Regions from separate parts of the Homo sapiens genome. Here region 1 is linked to region 2. Evidence: promoter capture Hi-C in human tissues and cell types (Jung and others, 2019). All regions are on one chromosome and are shown on one strand. Each heading gives the region's core, a stretch centred on a gene start or on the middle of the fragment in contact. The rest is flanking DNA. Distances are from core to core; before and after follow the strand shown.

Region 1 (2,799 bases), core at 131-2,630, 140 kb before region 2:
AGATGCTGTTGTGCACGCCTGTAGTCCCAGCTACCTGGGAGGCTGAGGTGGAAGATCACTTGACCCTGAGGGGTCAGAGGTTGCAGTGAGCTGAGATGGCGACACTGCACTCCAGCGTGGGTGACAGAGAGGGACCTTGTCTCAAAAAAAAAAAGCTTTGTGGCCCAAATTGCCTTCACCCACTCCATACACACGTTCTCAGCCCAAAGTTTCCAAATATTTTCTCCATATAACTTAAAGATGACTTTTCCTAACTACCCTCACTTTAAGGACTTAATACAGTTGTACATATATTTCTGCTATGTGGATCTCAGACACATAAGGCTTGGCAACAGGGAGGAGACAACCTCAGTTGGCTCCTCGGGAAGTAGGACATGCCTCCACAGTCAGATAGCTGGAAAACAGATGGATGGACCAGGCAGAAATGCTTCTGGACCATTTCTAGCCTCTGGGAAAAAGAAAACAAGGAATACTGTGGAGCTCCAGAAGTACCAAGAACTCCAAGGAATGTGGCTTCTACAGGGAAGAGCTTATATCTTTCCTGAAATTGTGGTCCCAGAACTTTAAAAATTGCTGGATATTTGATAATCTGGATATTTGATTCCTCCTGTGAAGGAGGAACAACGGTGGTTTGAACACATATATTTATCTCCTTTCCTGGAGCCCCAGAAAAAATGAGAGCAAATGAATAAAACCAGAATAAACCCACAAGAACAAAGAGAGTGGGAGAAAAACATCAGAGGATGAGAAGATGGAAAGCTAAGTGGAAAAATCAGCTGTGGTGAGAAAGCTGTATACCAAGTGTCTGCAGAGGTGGTGCTCATGAGAAGCTAGCCATTTCCTGCCACAGAATTCCAGCTAGGCTCAAATACTAGGGGATCCAGGAACCCAGGAAGAAGAATGGGTGAAAGACAAGAGGATTGGTTGAAAGTCTCTAGGCCGGGAGCGGTGGCTCACGCCTGTAATCCCAACACTTTGGGAGGCCGAGGCGGGTGGATCACGAGGTCAGGAGATCGAGACCACCCTGGCTAACACGCTGAAACCCCGTCTCTACTAAAAAAAAATACAAAAAAAAAAAAAAAAAATTAGCCGGGCATGGTGGCAGGCGCCTGTAGTCCCAGCTATTCGGGAGGCTGAGGCGGGAGAATGGCGTGAACCCGGGAGGCGGGGCTTGCAGTGAGCCGAGATCGCCCCACTGCACTCCAGCCTGGGTGACAGAGCGAGACTCCGTCTCAAAAAAAAAAAAAAAAGGAAGTCTCTATAAGGATTAGGTAGCCTCTAGAGCCCTCTATGATCTAGAACCTTTCAGGAGTCTGGCAGGAGTCTAGAGGTTTAGTCTGTGGAGCAACTGAACCAAAGGGGAGCCTTAAGAGAGAGAGCGAGCCACTGGAAGTCTACATATTGAACCATGAGACACACCCTTCTCTGTCCATTCCTACCCCAGCCCCCACAGTCTCCTTATCCTGGTGGCTAGGCTGCTCCCTCCCTAGGCATGCAAATGGGGGAATTTTCAGGAGAAACTAAACAGCCCCAGAGAAATGACCTAAAGTTGGGGCTTCCATTATGAAAAGCTACCAACGGACAAACCTCATACATAGATACAGAATTCAAATCAGTCTTTTAATACCTACCTCTTTGATGTGAATGGACAAAAAAGGATCACCAGACTTTTAAGGAAAGCCCGAAAATAAATGAGGGAGACGAAAAGAAAAAGAAAAAGAAAAAGACTAATAGAACATGTAACTCCCTTTGTTTCTGGGGTTTCCCACACTCTTCTCTTCCTTCTACCTCCCTGGCTGATCCTCTCCAATCACCTTTGCTGGATCTCCCTCACCTCCTTGACCTTTACATGTTGCAATGCCCAGGACACAAGGACCTCTTCTTTTCTCCATCTACACTCACTCTTTTAGTAAGCTTATCAGCCTCGTGGCCCTAAATATTCTTTATATGCAGTTGACTCCCAAATGTATATTTTTAGAGCAATTTATCTTCTGACTCCAGACTGTATATCTCTATGCGTACTCAGCCTCTCCACTTGGTGACCTTACAGGCACCTCAAAACTAATGTGTTCAAAATATATTACTGGCCGGGAGTGGTGGCTCATGCCTGTAATCAATCCCAGCACTTTGGGAGGCCAAGGTGGGCAGATCACCTGAGGTCAGGAGTTCGACACCCGTCTGGCCAACATGGTGAAACCCCGTCTCTACTAAAAATACAAAAATTAGCCCGGTGTGGCGGTGCATGCCTGTAATCCCAGATACTTGGGGGAGCTGAGGCAGGTGAATGCTTGAACTTGGGAGGCAGAGGTTGTAGTGAGCTGAGATCATGCCACTACACTTCAGCCTGGGCGACAGAGTAACACACTGTGTCAAAACAAAACAAAACAAAAACCCAAAATATATTACCAATCTTCTCTCCAAGAATCTGTATCTACTAAAGTCTCCCTCATCTTAATAAATGTCAACTTATTAATAATTTTTTTTGAGACAGAGTCTCTCTCTGTCCCCTAGGCTGGAGTGTAGTGGCACAATCTTGGCTCACTGCAACTTCCGCCTCCCAGGTTCAAGCAATTCTCCTTCCTCAGCCTCCTGAGTAGCTGGGATTACAGGCACACAGCACCATACCTGGCTAATTTTTTTGTATTTTTAGTAGAGATGGGGTTTCACCATGTTGGCCAGGCTGGTCTCGAACTCCTGACCTTGTGATCCATCCACCTCGGTCTCCCAAAGTGCTGGGATTACAGGCGTGAGCCACCGCGCCCGACCAATAAATAAATATTAATAAATATCTTTCCAGTC
Region 2 (2,857 bases), core at 34-2,533:
TTTCTCTGTGCTTTATGTATATTACCTAACCTTACAAACTGTGTAAGGTACATGCTGTTCTCTCAATTTTTCAGATAAGAAAATTGAAGCCCAGAGAGATCAAGTGACTGATCCAAAGTCCCACAGTGAGGGGAACTGAAGATAGGATATTCTTTCTCCTTTTCCTCTTTAAAAAATTATTTTGATTAAAAAAAACCGTATTACTGAAGCATAGGGACATGGGGAGAAATTATGAATGATTCCTCAGCCTGAATAAAATAGTATGTTTCATTAAGGCAACAAATATTTATTAAGGACCTAATATTTGCCTGACATTCAAGTGAGGTGGGGGGCACACAAGTAGTAAATAAATAACAGACTGGGCAAAGGGCTACCAAGGCAATACTGTAGTAGACTAACAGGTGCCCCACCATAGATGGGTGGTCCGGAAAAGGCGTCTCAGATGTCTTTCGTTGAGACGCAAAAAAAAGCTGTGGGGTAGGGCGTAAGGGGAGGGTGGAGAAGAGAGAGAGGGTTCCTGGCCAAGGGAACCAAAAGCAGAGAAGCTCCAAGTCAGAAAAAAGCAGCGGTTGGCCCGTTGGGAGAATTGGAAGCCAACCAGTATAGCTGTAGCACAGGCGGGGCCCATTTACGCCGTGCGTTTTCACCCTGGAAAGGAGTTTGGGTTTTCAAGTGTGACGAGGCGCTATTAAAGAGTTTTAAACATGGAAATTACTCGATCTGATGTTTGTGTAGTGTCCTGTTTGTTAGTCATCTTTTCCAAACTATAATACATTTTTTTTTTCCTAAAAATGGTCGTTAAAGCAGCCTAGGACTTAGGTCAATTGCGGTGGTCACTTGACCGCCTGTGAGGAGGCGGCGCGTGGGGTGGATCGGACTGGGCGTGGCGGGGGCTCAGGAAGGAGGGTGGCCCTACCCCAGCGGGCTCGGCTCGGGGCCTCCGCGGCAGTTCGGGGTCCTTCACCCGCCGGCTCCAGGTAGGCTACTCCTCAGGTAAGCCCCGCCGCCAGCCGCGACGTCGTCGCAGACAGGCACCGCCCCCACTCGTGCGGCGCGAGTAGTCCTGCCCCTCCGCGTTGTCTCCGGCCGGCACGGCCCGGCGGGGTACGGCCGAGCCCGCCGCATGTGGCCCGGCTCCCGGACACCTCCCCGGCGTCCTCCGCGCCGGCCGCTCCTGCCCCGACGTCGCTCCGGCACGGCTCGGGGCCCAGAGGCGAGGCGAGGACGCCGGGCAAGCCAGGCAGCGGAACTGACGCCGGCGAGCTTCCGGGGCGGCCCCGGGCAGGTCGGCGGCGGCGGCCCGCAGTCGTGGAGGAGCGGTGGGAGCGTCGGCGGCCGCGGGCGATGCAACTTCCGGACGGGACTCCCCTCTGTCCGCGCCTCACATCTCCCCTTCCTCTCGCCTAGTCCTGTGCCGTTTTCCGTCCGCGACTCTTCCGGCCCAGAGCTTTCGGAGTGCGGTTGCTCAGGGGAAGCCGTCGCCGCCCCCGCCTCGGGGCCGAGTGAGAGTGCCCGTCGCGTCGCGCCGCGTCGCCCCCCGGGCCGCCTCCTTGCCGCCAGTGGCGGGCTCCGTTCTCCCTCGAAGCACTCCCCCCAGCTCCATGAATGGAAATCGGCTCCGCAGGTGAGTCAGAGTAGCTGGGCCAGGTAGGGGATGTCACCCAGCTACTGTCCTCTGAGCATCCCTGCTCCTCCCGCCCGGCCCAGGTGCGCGAGGTGAGCGTCGGGCGGGCATCGCTCGGTCTCCCGCCCCTCGCCCTGCTCCTCCGCGACCTCCCCGCAGCCCAGCCCCAGTTCCCCGGGGGCCCCTGAGTCGGCGAAACTGCGAGGCGGGGAAACGCTTGGAGGATTTAAGTTTGGGGTTATCTAGGCGGCATTACTCTTTGCTGGAGTACCCTTCTTCTAGACTTTAGAATGGTTTGCCATTGTCTAGTTGGAGTGCGTGTCCTTTAGCCAGGTTGTGTGTTCCGTAGAGGCTGGGCAGCCAGCCAGCTCCCTTACCTACCTCTTAGGATAGTTGTGAAGATAGGCTGAGATAACGGATAACTTCAGATTAAGTTCGAAGGAGGTGTTGGTGCAACGTTAAATTCAACATGGCATTGCTCCTACCCTCGAGTTCTTTTCTGTTGTTTGTGGCAGCATGGTAGATAGTTTCTGAGGAGCTTGGAAATGTCATAGCAGCCTGGATCCCTGCTTATACGAGGAGGTGGTTCTTAAAATTGCTGACAGTATATTTTTTTTCATTCTCTATTCCTTAGAGAAGTAGTTGTCATATTCCTGGAAATTTGGAATTTAAGAAAACTGCTTTATCTCTGGGGGCAAGAGCAGCAGTTTTGCAGTCTTAAGAGAAAATTGCAACATGGATAGTACTTGTCCTTAAAAAAGGAAAAGTATTGTTTATGGTTCTAAAGTAATTAATTCAGGGACAGAAAGGTGTTGCATAACGGTTTGCCTAACAAATGATCATGCTTGGCTTATTAAATTTGAAAGTATGCTTCAGACGATCACAAGTTCGTAAATTAATTTTCAAAATATTTGCGGGGCTGTCTTGTTACTAATGGTGTTACAAGTTCCTGAATTCCATATCTCTTTTTGCCAATTTGATATAAGAAAAACTTACGTAAAAGAAACCAGTGACATAACGATAGCTAAGAACTTTGTTGAATAGATTACGTGTCAAATGGTTGCAAAAAAGCACTCAAACTGGGGAGATGAGATGGGGAGAGAGTTACAAATTTTTTTTTTTTTTTTTTACAAATTTTGTTACATGGAAGTTTCTCTAATCAATTTAGACCATATCTCTTTTTCCTGCTCCATTGTTTCGCTTTCCCCCATATCGTCTTAAAAGGTCTGTCTG

What was found. Contacts are between HindIII fragments. The study calls those that stand out against the background at their distance.
Region 1: a contact is called between a fragment that was not itself captured here and the fragment with the promoter of AGO3 in region 2, in 1 of the 25 tissues and cell types used here (mesenchymal stem cells).

What each region holds. Positions count from the first base shown.
Region 1 is chr1:35,786,414-35,789,212 of GRCh38, forward strand. The region is part of intron 2 of CLSPN-DT (CLSPN divergent transcript); the gene reads left to right. Among named protein-coding and RNA genes, the nearest start is that of CLSPN-DT, 18 kb to the left of the region's middle. The HindIII fragment of the contact is 5,779 bases long and covers 1-2,799 here.
Region 2 is chr1:35,929,822-35,932,678 of GRCh38, forward strand. AGO3 (argonaute RISC catalytic component 3) reads left to right here and starts at 1,284. Exons shown (of 19, transcript NM_024852.4): 1 at 1,284-1,624. The coding sequence starts at 1,606. AGO1 (argonaute RISC component 1) reads left to right here. Exons shown (of 19, transcript NM_012199.5): 19 at 1-711. RefSeq lists enhancers at 900-1,423, 1,424-1,948, 1,949-2,471 and silencers at 927-1,436, 1,447-1,786. The HindIII fragment of the contact is 14,720 bases long and covers 1-2,857 here.